Linked DNA regions of Homo sapiens: region 1 is linked to region 2. Evidence: promoter capture Hi-C in 16 types of primary human blood cells and fetal thymus (Javierre and others, 2016). All regions are on one chromosome and are shown on one strand. The core of a region is centred on a gene start or on the middle of the fragment in contact, and the rest is flanking DNA. Distances in the headings are between cores, read along the strand shown.

Evidence for each region. The method cuts DNA at HindIII sites, captures the fragments that hold promoters and counts their contacts. A CHiCAGO score of 5 or more calls a contact.
Region 1: a fragment that was not itself captured here is called in contact with the fragment with the promoter of CEP295 in region 2 in 1 of 17 cell types (M2 macrophages); the score reaches 5.7 in M2 macrophages.

What each region holds. Positions count from the first base shown.
Region 1 is chr11:93,251,163-93,257,338 of GRCh38, reverse strand. No RefSeq gene overlaps it. Among named protein-coding and RNA genes, the nearest start is that of SLC36A4, 56 kb to the right of the region's middle. The HindIII fragment of the contact is 1,308 bases long and covers 1,591-2,898 here.
Region 2 is chr11:93,658,121-93,664,118 of GRCh38, reverse strand. It overlaps CEP295 (centrosomal protein 295), which reads right to left and starts at 2,437. Exons shown (of 30, transcript NM_033395.2): 1 at 2,345-2,437. RefSeq lists an enhancer at 2,314-2,443 and a silencer at 2,604-2,673. The HindIII fragment of the contact is 3,556 bases long and covers 164-3,719 here.

The DNA of each region.
Region 1 (6,176 bases), core at 995-3,494, 410 kb after region 2:
CTGTTTGTTTCACTCTGGCTCTTTTTCTCCATAACTTCTTTTACTTGCTTATCTCTTGCACACGGCCCAATAGTCCCCAGCCTTCACTCAGCATCAGATCTACCACTGATGTTCAATCTTTGTGGCTTTGAGTTTAAATTCTCTCGTAAGCATTTGCTACAGCATCCTCTAGTCAGGTGTTCAACATACATCCAATTAGCTGTAGCAAAATCTTTCCCTCTCCCTAATACCCTTGCAGGCCCTGACCCTTCTGCAAGATGTGGTGGGGCAGCTGATGAAACGTCTTCTACTATGTAGCTTTAATAGGAGTCTATTACACACAGGGCAGAATACAATAATAGGAAGAATAAACTTAGCAGCAAGTAGTAGCCTTACTATAATTACATCATTATAATTTCTCATTCTCTTGATTGTCATCTTGCTGCATATGCAACATGTGGGAAACAGAAGCCTCTTCCCTGGGAAATGCCATTTGCAGAAACTATATGCAATTTAGGCATCTCTCAGTGAAGAGCCACATTACATAATCAGGCAGGACTCCTGCCTAGAGACTAAGCTATTCTCTAAAGATGAACAGATACCCTGCTGAGTCCTTTTTGCAGGATGTGTGACCTATCTGTGTAAGTATCCACATCACATACATTTCATGTCACTTCAGAATTGTAATAAGCCTTCTTCATTAATGATTATGTATTAGGAACATTTGAGTAGATGTGACTTTAATAGTAAGTTGAACTTTATTTAATTATCACATTGTCACAAGCCTTTCTACATTTGTAGAATTTTAATACTCAATAAGCACAATATTGTTTCACTATAAAGAAATATGATGGGTGTATAGCAATTTGGTATTACTAAAACATATATTCTCTATCTCAAATAAGATGAACTCTGAGAAATAAAACCCTTTATCTGTCATACTTTCAAGTTACATGTGTATCACTCCTGTTTAAATAGAAGAACAGCAAAGCTTCAGCCCTTTCTTGATCAGAAGAAAGCTTTTGAGCAAAAAATAAAAATTAATCAATGACAGTTGTTTCTTAAGATTATCTAACTAATTGAGAAATAGGAAATATTCTATTATGGATATTGTATCAGCTGGAGTTAAGTTGTAATGAACAGCATCTATTCAGCAAGTTCAAGAGAAATGAATTTATTAAAAGGTATTGTATGGTTTATTGTACCATTGGAAGGCAAAGAATTGCCCTCTAGGCTGACCTTCTAAAAACAACTTCTAAAACCAGTGTGTGGAACTGAGTCAAAGGAGCGGTTGCTTCTGCAATGGTCAAGAGACTGAAGATTCAGGAAGCTGATATGCCAACCATCTGCTCCTGAGCCACACTGTCTCTTTGCCAATGCTACTGTCCACACCAGCAAAATGGTGTGACATCCTGTCCCTCTTCCCATGCTGCTTAGTTCTAAATCAAAGTGTCATTTGATTACACCTGGGGCAACATTAGCTGCAAGGAGTCTGAGAAGTATAGTTTTTAGCTTTCTGGCCTCTGCCTGCTAAAAGGGAGCCAGGATAGGGCCGAATGAGTTAATTTAGAGTATTTACCATGGATATGTAACTGGATAATACTGAAAGCTTGAGTAACGTTAAAATCAGATATGGTTATTTTGCTGCGTTTAATTTTTTTTGCCCTTTCAGGACAGGAATTACATTAAGTATAGTCTTTGGTTAATAAAATTCTTGTACCATTGATTGACATATGGCCACCAAATTAATTAATTAATAATATAATAAACATCATGGACCACCCATCACTAAAATAAAAGTTAGGTCCTTGACAATAACCTATAGCTAATACAACTTCCCCATATATCCACTGCCCTAGGAAACATCACCCTGAATTTTTTTTTAGGAAAGAAGAGATAACAAAATTTATTATTTTTTTTCCAAAGGAAATTGCTTTATTTTTTATTTCAATTGGTTTTTGGGGAGCAGGTGAATATGTTCTTTAGTGGTAATTTCTGAGATTTTGGTGCACCCATCACCTAAGCAGTATACACTGTACCCAATGTGTAGTCTCTTATCCCTCACCTTCTCCCACCCTTTCCCCAGAGTTCCCAAGGTCCATTGTATCATTTTTATGTCTTTGCATCCTCATAGCTTAGCTCCCACTTAAGTGAGAACATACAATGTTTGGTTTTCCATTACTGAGTAACTTCACTTAGAATAATGGTCTCCAATTCCATTCAGGTTGCTGTGAATGTCATTATTTCATTCCTTTTTATGTCTGCGTAGTATTCCATGGTGTGTATATGTATACCACAATTTCTTTATCCACTCGTCAATTAATGATGGGCATTTGGGCTGGTTCCACATTTTTGCAATTGCGAATTGTGCTGCTATGAACATGTGTGTGCAAGTATCTTTTTCGTATAATGACTTCTTTTCCTCTGGGTAGATACCTAGTAATGGGATTGCTGGATCAAATGGTAGATTTTAGTTCTTTAAGGAATTTCCGCACTATATTCCATAGTGGTTGTATTAGTTTACATTCCCATCAGCAGTGTAAAAGTGTTCCCTTTTCACCACATCCATACCAACATGTAAAATTTTTTTATTTTTTTGATTATGGCCATTCTTGCAGGAGTAACGTGATATTGCATTGTGGTTTTGATTTGCATTTCCCTGATCATTAGTGATGTTGAGCATTCTTTCCTATGTTTGTTGGCCATTTGTATATCTTCTTTTGAGAATTGCCTGTTCATGTCCTTAGCTCACTTTTTGATGGGATTGTTTATTTGTTTTTTTTTCTTGCTGATTTGTTTGAGTTCCGTGTAGATTCTGTTTATTAGTCCATTGTCAGATGTATAGACAGCAAAGATTTTCTCCCACTCTGTGGGTTGTCTGTTTACTCTGCTAATTTTTTATTTTGCCATGCATAAGCTTTTTAGTTTAATCAAGTCCCATCTATTTATCTTTGTTTTTGTTGCATTTGCTTTCGAGTTCTTGGTCATAAAAATCTTTGCCTATGCCAATGTCTAGAAGGGTTTTTCCAATGTTATCTTCTAGAAATTTTATGGTTTCAGGTCTTAGATTTAAGTCCTTTATCCATCTTGAGTTGATTTTCATATAAGGTGAGAGATGAGGATCCAGTTTCATTCTTCTCCACGTGGCTTACCAATTATTCCAGCACCATTTGTTGAACAGGGTGTCCTTTCCCACTTTATATTTTCGTTTGCTTTGTTGAAGATCAGTTGGCTGTAAGTATTTGGCTTTATTTCTGCGTTCTCTATTGTGTTCCATTGGTCTAGGTGCCTATTTTTATACTAGTACCATGCTGTTTTGGTGACTATAGTCTTATGATATAGTTTGAAGTTTGGTAATGTGATGTCTCCAGATTTGTTCTTTTTGCTTAGTCTTGCTTTGGCTATGCAGGCTCTGTTTTGGTTCCAGATGAATTTTAGGATTGTTTCTTCTAGTTCTGTGAAGAATGATGGCATCACCCTGAATTTCATGTTTTATTGCATCTCTAAGTATTCTTACAGACTATTTATTTTAGTTAATCTCTACCATCATAAAGATGAAAGAATAAAGTGTATAATCGTTTGGTGCTTACTTTTCAGTGAATATTATAATGCTAGATTCATCCATATTTTTTGCATTTCATTGTAGTTTCATTCAGTCCAACTGCTATATTCTGTTGCTGAATATAACAATGTTCTATTATATGAATATTCATCTATTTTTCTCTTAATGGACACCTGTACTGCTTCAAAGTTTCAATATGTGAACAATGCTGCTATATGAATATTCTTTCATATTGTCAGCCTAAATAACAAACAAGAAGAGGCTCTCTAAAAGAAAATATGTTTGTTTGGGAATATAGTATTGCAATGGGAATACGTATGTCATAGTGAACAATGTGTATATTCAGGGAGGTAAAGGAAGACAAAGGTTTTTAAAGGGAAAAAATGAGGAAGATTACATAACTGTTTTGAAATAATTATTCTTAGCTACAAAGATTAATAGCAAGACTGACATCAGTCCAAGGTTGAATAAGCCATTGCCAGGCAGATGTCCTTGCAGAAGTATTTTTGATCTAAGATTGCAATGGCTTTTGTGCAATGCTGTAGTTTTTGTGGAGTCTTTTTCATTGTTAGGCATACAATCATGAGAATCTTCTCTTCATGGCCTTCTCTGGCTATATGTGTCAGAGTTTTCTTAACATTAGTGACTACACTTTGATTCTGATAACTTTCACAATATATACTAGAGTTTGTAAAGGAGTGTTTACCAAAGATGAAATTGCTGGCTAATGGGATTTTTTTAGTTAGGATCAGAGTTCTGCACATTTAAGATACTCAAAAATACATAATCTTTAGCCAAGTCAGGTTTAAAAGTAGTAAACTAACATAATAATTAAAAAATATAAAGTAGAACAGCCATACTAATTTACATTCCCACAAACAGTGTGTGAGCATTCTCCTTTCTCCACATCCTTGCCAGCATTTTCTGTCTTTTTGGTAATAGCTATTTTAACTGTATCTCACTATGGTTTTGATTTGCATTTCCCTGATGATTAGGCTGAATGGATAAAAAATGCTATATATACACAATAAAATATTATTAAGTCATAAAATGAATGAAATCCTATCATTTGCAGCAACATGGATGAAACTGGAAGACATTATGTTAAGTTAAATAAGTGAAGCACAGAAAGACAAATATTCCATGTTCTCACTCATATGTGGGAGTGGTCTTGGGGAGGTGGAGAGTAGAGTGGTGGTTACTAGAGTCTGGGAAGGGTAGGAAAAATAGGGAATTAAGAGATGTTGGTTAATGGATACAAAAATACAGTTAGATAGGAGGAAGAAGTACCCGTGTTCAATGGCACACACAGTAGGGAGACTATAGTTAAAAACAATTAATTGTATAATTCAAAATAGCTAGAAGAGAATCTTTGGAACATTCTAAACACAAAGAAATGATCATTATTTGAGGTGATGAATAACCCAGTTACCCTGATTTGGTCATTACACATTGTTCACATGTATCAAAATATCACACATACCCTATAAATATGTGCAACCATTATATATCAATAAAAAGTGAAATTTAAGACTTACAGTTTTTTCTCCAAGAGCCTGTAATTCCTTTTAGAGAAAGAAGTCAAAGTTTATCTTTGAAATCTTATCACTCCCTTAGCCACTGAAGCACAAAGGTCCTCTGGCATGCTGTGATGATCATTTGCTGTGTAAGAGCAGTCCTCCTGCCTCCTGTTGGTGAGGGTGAATTACCTCCAGGCTGGCAACTCCTTATCTTGCCTACTGGCCTTAGCAAAGGAGCCTGAAGAGAGTAGGTGACATCCATAGCTTGAACTTCATTGGCACTCTTGTTCGTTCCATGGTGGAAACATTTTACATCTGGGAATCAGAACTTGTAGTCATGTAGAGCCTAGAGTTGTGGAAATGGAAGAATAAATTATCCATGTGGGTCACGAGGAGTGATGATAAGTGGACTACTTTTGTCGCCCTTCCTTGTTTTTTGGACCCATGCGGTCTGCATATTGGAGATATAACACTGTATAATAGTCACTGGTTTAGGGTATATACTGGGCCCTAAGGATGGAGCCCTATACGCATACAGCATCATCTCTAATCTAGTGCCTAATTGTGCCTTCAAAGAGCAATTCTGTTGCTGTATCAGGCCAACATCTTCTGGGTGCGGCAATATGAAATAGGACCAATAGGTCCCATGATATATATCCCTTTATTATACAATGGGTCCCTTGGTCAATTGCAACATTATTTAGGAGCCCATGTCAACAGGTCAGTTCACTCCATGCCCTCAGATAGTGGTGCTTGCTGAAGCCAAGCAGGCAGGAAGGGTAACCCCATTCCAAGAATATATGTCAACCAGTGCTACTTGGTTGAGTTTGTAGTAATCTGCTTTCATTCTCCAGGATCTGTTTGTTTTTTATAGGGACCAGACTAGTGAATTAAATGAATGAGGATATGATGGAGAGCTCTGTATCCTGTAGGTCTTTAAGGGTAGCACTAATCTCTGCCATTCCCCTCATCAACTGATATTGTTTTGATTTTACAATCTTAGGTGGGGAGAAAGGAAGTTTCAAAGGCTCCTATTTGGCTTTCCCCACCACAATAGCTGTTACCTCACAGAGAAAAGAACAAATGTGAAGGTTCAAGCAATTACCAAGGATACT
Region 2 (5,998 bases), core at 1,188-3,687:
TCTCATAGACATAATATTGCTGAATTTTTAAAAAGCCAGACACAAAAAAGTACAACAAAATTGATTTATATAAAGTTCAAGAACAAGCAGAACTAATCCATGAGAGGTAAAAATAAAGTTACCTTACTGGAAGTTACTGACTCGGAGATGGCACAAAGAAGCTTGCTGGGGTACTGAAAATTTATATATTTTGATCTGTATGATGGTTTAGACAAGTGTATACATATGTAAAAATTCCTCAAATGGTATACCTAGATTTGTGTTTTATTCTTATACTTTAAGAGGAAAAAAATCCTAATATTTCAAATTTTAGGTATCCATTACTTCATCTCAGAGGATTATTGAAAAACATATAAACATTTATTATTTTTAAGCTCCTAAAATGCGATAGAATAACTGTTTCTTCTTGTGTATAATTTTTAAATTTTTTAAACTTTTTATTTGGAAATTTCAGGCTTAGAATTCCCATTTGCCCTTTCCCCAGCTTCTCCAAATGTCAACGTCTTGTACATAACCATGGTACAATGATCAAAATCTGAATATTAACACTGACACAATATTTTTTACTAATCTACAGGCAGTATTCAATTTTTGTCAATTATCACACTAATGTCTATTTTCTGGACCAGAAGCCAATCCAAGGATATAACACATTGCATTTGTTGCTGTGTAACTGTGTGTCATCTAAAAAGCAGACGCTAAGATGGGAGTAAACCTGCAAATATTTTATTAGGAGAAATGCGTGTGTGAGGGAAAATGGGAGGGAGCTGATAAAAGTTACAAGCGCCTCAGACTTCAGTGTAAGTCTAACACTGAATGGAGGGAAGTAACAATGGGTAGACCCCTCTTAGACAGCCATGCAGTATAAGAAATGTTCAGCAAGAACCCGTGGGGAGATTCTCAGGAACAGGCCTGCCACTGTCAGTGGCTAGGAGCAGCCCATGGGAAGCATGGCCTCAGTGCAAATGGAGATTTCAGAATGCAGGAGATTAAGATATGTGAGTTACATTCTCATGTCAAAGTTGTCATGTCCCCCTTAATCTGGGACAGTTTCTCAGTCTGTCTTTTCAAGACCCTGTCATTTTTGAAAATACTGGCCAAGTACTTTGTTGAATGTCCCTCCATTTAGATTTGTCTAATCTTATGTGATTAAACTGAGGTTATGTATTTTTGGCAAGAACACCACAGAATTGATTAGGCACCTTTTCAGTGCATTGTTATCAAGAGGTAAATGATGCTGAATTTTGGTCACTTGGTTAAGATGATGTCCACCAGGTTTCTCCTCTGTAGTTACTACTTTTCCTTTATAAATATCTCATGAAGACAGAGTAGAGGCTACAGAAATATGCTTTTCATCATACTTTTGCCCATTGACGTTAGTATCCATTGATGACTGTTGTCTGAAACAACTACTGTGGTGTTTACCAAATAGTATTTTCTATTTCCATTATTCCTTCTACAATTATCAATCGGAATCCTGCTGTAAGGAAGTTTTCCCTGCTGCCCCATTTACTTGTTTATTAATTATTTATTCTTAGTAATATGGATTTTTAAATTCTACATTTTATTACTATCCAATATTGAAGATTATACTACTTATCTTGCAAGATTTCGTCCTGAGGATTAAATGGCTCCTGGTACATAGTAATCACAAAATTAACACTAAACTTGGAAGATCTGGGTTCAAGACCCAACACTGCCACTTATTAGCAGGAAGATACTGGCCAAGTCACTGAAGTCACTTTGGTTTCGTTTTCTTAAACTGTATAAAGGGAATAATAATATCTACCCCAAAAGGTTTGTTCTGACGTCTATGTGACTTAGCGTGAAGTCTTCAAATACACTCTAAGTATTAAGGACTCAAAAGTTCACCATTGTTTTAAAAGTTGAGTTTGTGACAGGATTGAATAACTGTGAGATTAAGGTGGCAGACACCAAAAGAGAGCGTGCTCTTTGCATGAAACGATCCAGGCAAGGCTCTTTTAACAGCTACCAGGTGGCAGGCCATGTCCGCGGGTGATCTGGGGGAAGCGCCCCTCCCCCGACACGGAAGCTCCGCGACAGGGGAGGCTGCGTGGGAAGCTCGCGCGACCCGACCCCAGGAGAGCGCGCAAAGCCTCTCGCACTGAGTTACCGGGTCTGGTCCGGACACTCCTTACAGCCGCCAGCCCGACCGCGGGCAGGGCCCACGGCCTGCGGAGCCTGAGAAACGCGAGCCGTACCTGCGTTCGCAACAAGGCGCCTTCCTGGGATCCCATTCCTCCGGAATACAATCCCAGCTCTTGGGCCTCGGGGAGTCATGCTCCTACGGGGCGACTGGGAAGCCAGTGCATCCCTGACTCACCTGAGAACCCGGGGCCTGGACACAGTAACCGCAGCTCAGAGCAAGCCAGCCTGGTAAGCTCCTGCCCATCAGCTGCCCAGCAGCCGTTTCTGCGCCTGCGGGAGAGCCATCGCCGAGCCGCCGTCACTTCCGTCATTCAAACCGCCCGCCAATGGCCGGACCAAACCGCGGGAATAGGCCCTGTCCCGCCTTCCTCGGGGGCCGCCGGGAAGGCTGCGCGGTGTTAAAAACCCCGCGCCCCGCGCACGCGCACAGGCACGCGCCAGCCCCAGCCTGCCTAGGGGCCCATTATTTGTCACACCTGTCAGGCTTTGACGTTTTCCCGTATGGGCCGCGCTCGGTGGCTCGCGCCTGTAATCCCAGCACTTTGGGAGGCCAAGGCGGGAGGATCACTTGAGCCCAAGAGTTCGAGGTTATGTATTTTTGGTTATGAGTTCAAGACCAAGTCCTTTTAAAAACATGGTGAAACCTCATCTTTACAAAAAATACGACAACAGCAAAAATTAGCCGTGCGTGGTGGTGGGCGCCTGTAATCCCAGCTACTCGGGAGGCTGAGGCAGGAGAATCGCTTGAACCCAGGAGGTGGAGGTTGCAGTGAGCCGAGATCCCGCCAGTACTGCACTCCAGCCTGGGCGACAGAGCCAAAGCCTGTCTAAAAAAAAAAAAAAAAAGTGCAGAGCCATGAGGGTGACTTTTGTTTTAAGGCCCCATCATGAAGATATCTTGGGATATGCATCCTTTTCTGTACTGACTACGGAATTCATTGGTACTATTATGCGCAGTTAACGTCTTATAGCTTTCATTTAAGGCCTCCAGCTCATAACAACAATGAGCCGTATGTTACCCTGTGCCTCCAGAGGTACAGCGCACGGAGAGCACCTCACGGATTTATCTGCTGTAAATAACCAATAATCAGGCGGTGAGCACAGGTTAATACCTATTGAGTATCTGTTATGTGCCGAGTACATTATGTTACTCTGGATGGATTATGATGCCTATACTAGATTTTGCAGTCTGGGTCATGGGGGTTAAACATCAGGAATCAAAGGATTAAAAATGGGGGGTGGGGATGGGAAGTTGCTGACACGATCAGATCTGGCTGCACAGTGGGGAAAAGGTCAGAGAGAGTGAAGACAGAAGGCCGTATACTACTACAGAAAGTGAAAGATAATAGCAATGAGAATGGAGAGAGGTGAGTAGATTGAATAGGAAGCCAAACATCAGGAATTGGTGGTTACCTGGTTATGGGAGGCACAAGAGGAGAAAACAAGGGTGATGCCCAAGTCCCAGATACCTAGCACCTGGGTAGATAGTGATAACATCCTCCTGGAACACACATGAAGAGAACCAGGAGGGAGAAGTAATAAGTTAAGCTTTGAATATTTTGAATTTGAGCTGTTTATGAGATATCTAGACAAAGGGATGCATTTCAGAAACTTAGGACACAAAATTAGCAGTACTTGACAAACAATTGCATGTGAGATTGAGAGAAAAGGGAAAGTGAAGTTGATTTCATAGGCCACTAGCTTGGGTAGCAGTGTTGATTCTTGATTGTAAAGGGAGAAATCAGAAATGGCAGTTAAGTGGGTAGGGTGATGAGCCAAGCTCTGTGTATATTGAACTTCATGTGCCTGTAGAACATCCAGTGATGTACTGTAAGCAGATGAATACATCGGTAGATAGCCCACAGAAAGAACTAGGCTAAGCATAAAGGGATTTCCTTGTTACATGAGTAATAACAAACGCTAGCGGAATGGATGAGATCACTTAGGGAGAATTTGCAGAGTGAGAAGAGCAATGAGCAAAGAACCAAACTCCGAGGAACACCAAAACTTAAAGGGATGGAGTAGGAGGAAGGAAGGTACAGGAAGAAATAGTGTGATTCCACCTCAGATTTACAGATCAGGATACTGAGTTACAGAGAGATTCAGCAACTTGGCCAAGGGCACATTTCAGTCAAGGGTGAACCAGGACTAGAATTCACGTTTCCTTCCCAAATATTAGGGTTCTTCTCAGCCTCTCTCCCCATTTCCTGTCACATTTATCTTGAAGAATATTTGTATTCATTTTAAACATTTTTTCAGCATCCTCCATACAGGCACGGAGATACTCTTCCATACCCGATAAAACATGTGCATATTATTTCATCCCTTGGGCTAGGTTTAGTGCCTGGACATGGGTTCCTGCACATGCTGCCCCATGGCACTTAGGAGTTCTTATTGAAATGAGCTGTTTAGAGGGCTCTCTATTGATTACACTCTAAGTTTCTTGAGAACCAGGAGTGCACTTTGTTCAGTTGCCTGGCATAAATGAACAAAGCTGAATAAATGACCAAATTACATGCTTCACTTCCTCAACCTGCATCCTTGGCAGAAATTCTACACTTGGAGATTTTGAATCGAGACTTGTTCTGTTTTTAATAGAAGGCAGTGAGGAATCAAAGCCCAAGTGGGCTTAGAGTCAGAGCATCTGGCTTAGCATTACCACAGATACTTTCTAGCCGTGGGACCTCAAATCAATGAGTCTTCATTTCTGTTTTGGCGATCAATTGCTGCCAACCGAACCACCCTGGAATGTCCAACATGGGTCACTTACTATGGCTGGCAGCTGACGTTGGCTGGCAGCTGAGAGCTCAGCTGGAACTGTTGACTGGAGTGTCCACTCATGACCAGTCCATGTAGATTGGACATCTCACTCTATTGTGGCTAGTTTGGAGAGGGAGCATCTTAAGAGTGAGCATTCGCAGAGGAATAAAGTGGAAGCTGCAAGTCCTTTAAAAGGTGAGGCAGAGAACGAGTTGTAGTAAGTTGTATCACATTTTATTGGTTAAGTAACATGGAGCCAGGCCAGATTCAAGTGAAAGGGAAATGAACTCCATCTCTCAATGGAGGCAGTGACAAAGAATTTGTAGCCATCTTAATCCACCACGTTTCTTAGTAATACTTCATGTCGCCTCTCTATAGGATGGTTGTGAGACTCAAAAGGCATGAATCATATGAGAGCACTTTGTAAACTCTAGAGGGGTATACACATACTAGGTAGTTTAGCAGTTATTTATTTTATTTTTCTGTCGAACACCTTTCTCTCCTCCTCTGGTACAGACCCAGACCTCTAGGCTACCGGGGTAGGCATGTGACCCAGACTGGACAAATCGCAGTTCTTGTTTCCATTGCCATTGTGACCAACCGAGGTACAGGTATGTTACCTAATTGGGGCAATCAGAGTCTTTCACAGGAATTGGCACTGGAGACAGCAGAGACAAATATTTTCCTCTCTGGGCTCATGTTAGGATGTAAACCTGGAGCTTTCCCAGGTGGTCCCCCACAAGCTGGTCTGAAAGAATGAGTGTGACAGCAAGGAGCGCAGAGAGAGAATTTGGATAGTGTTCAAGTCCCTGGATCTAGCCATACCTGAGGTCAATATGCCTGCCTATTCTGCAGCAAACTGGTAGCAGCCATTCAGTCTTCTACTGAAGCTGCTTTGAATGGGAATTTCTATTTTTTTGCAAATTAAAAAGGGCTGTAGATTTTTATTTAAATTCTCATAGACAAACACATCTGGACATCTTGGGAGATAGTATAGAATAATGTTTAAGATCTTGGCTGAGCACAGTGGCTCACACCTATAATCCCAGCACTTTGGAAGGCCGAGGCA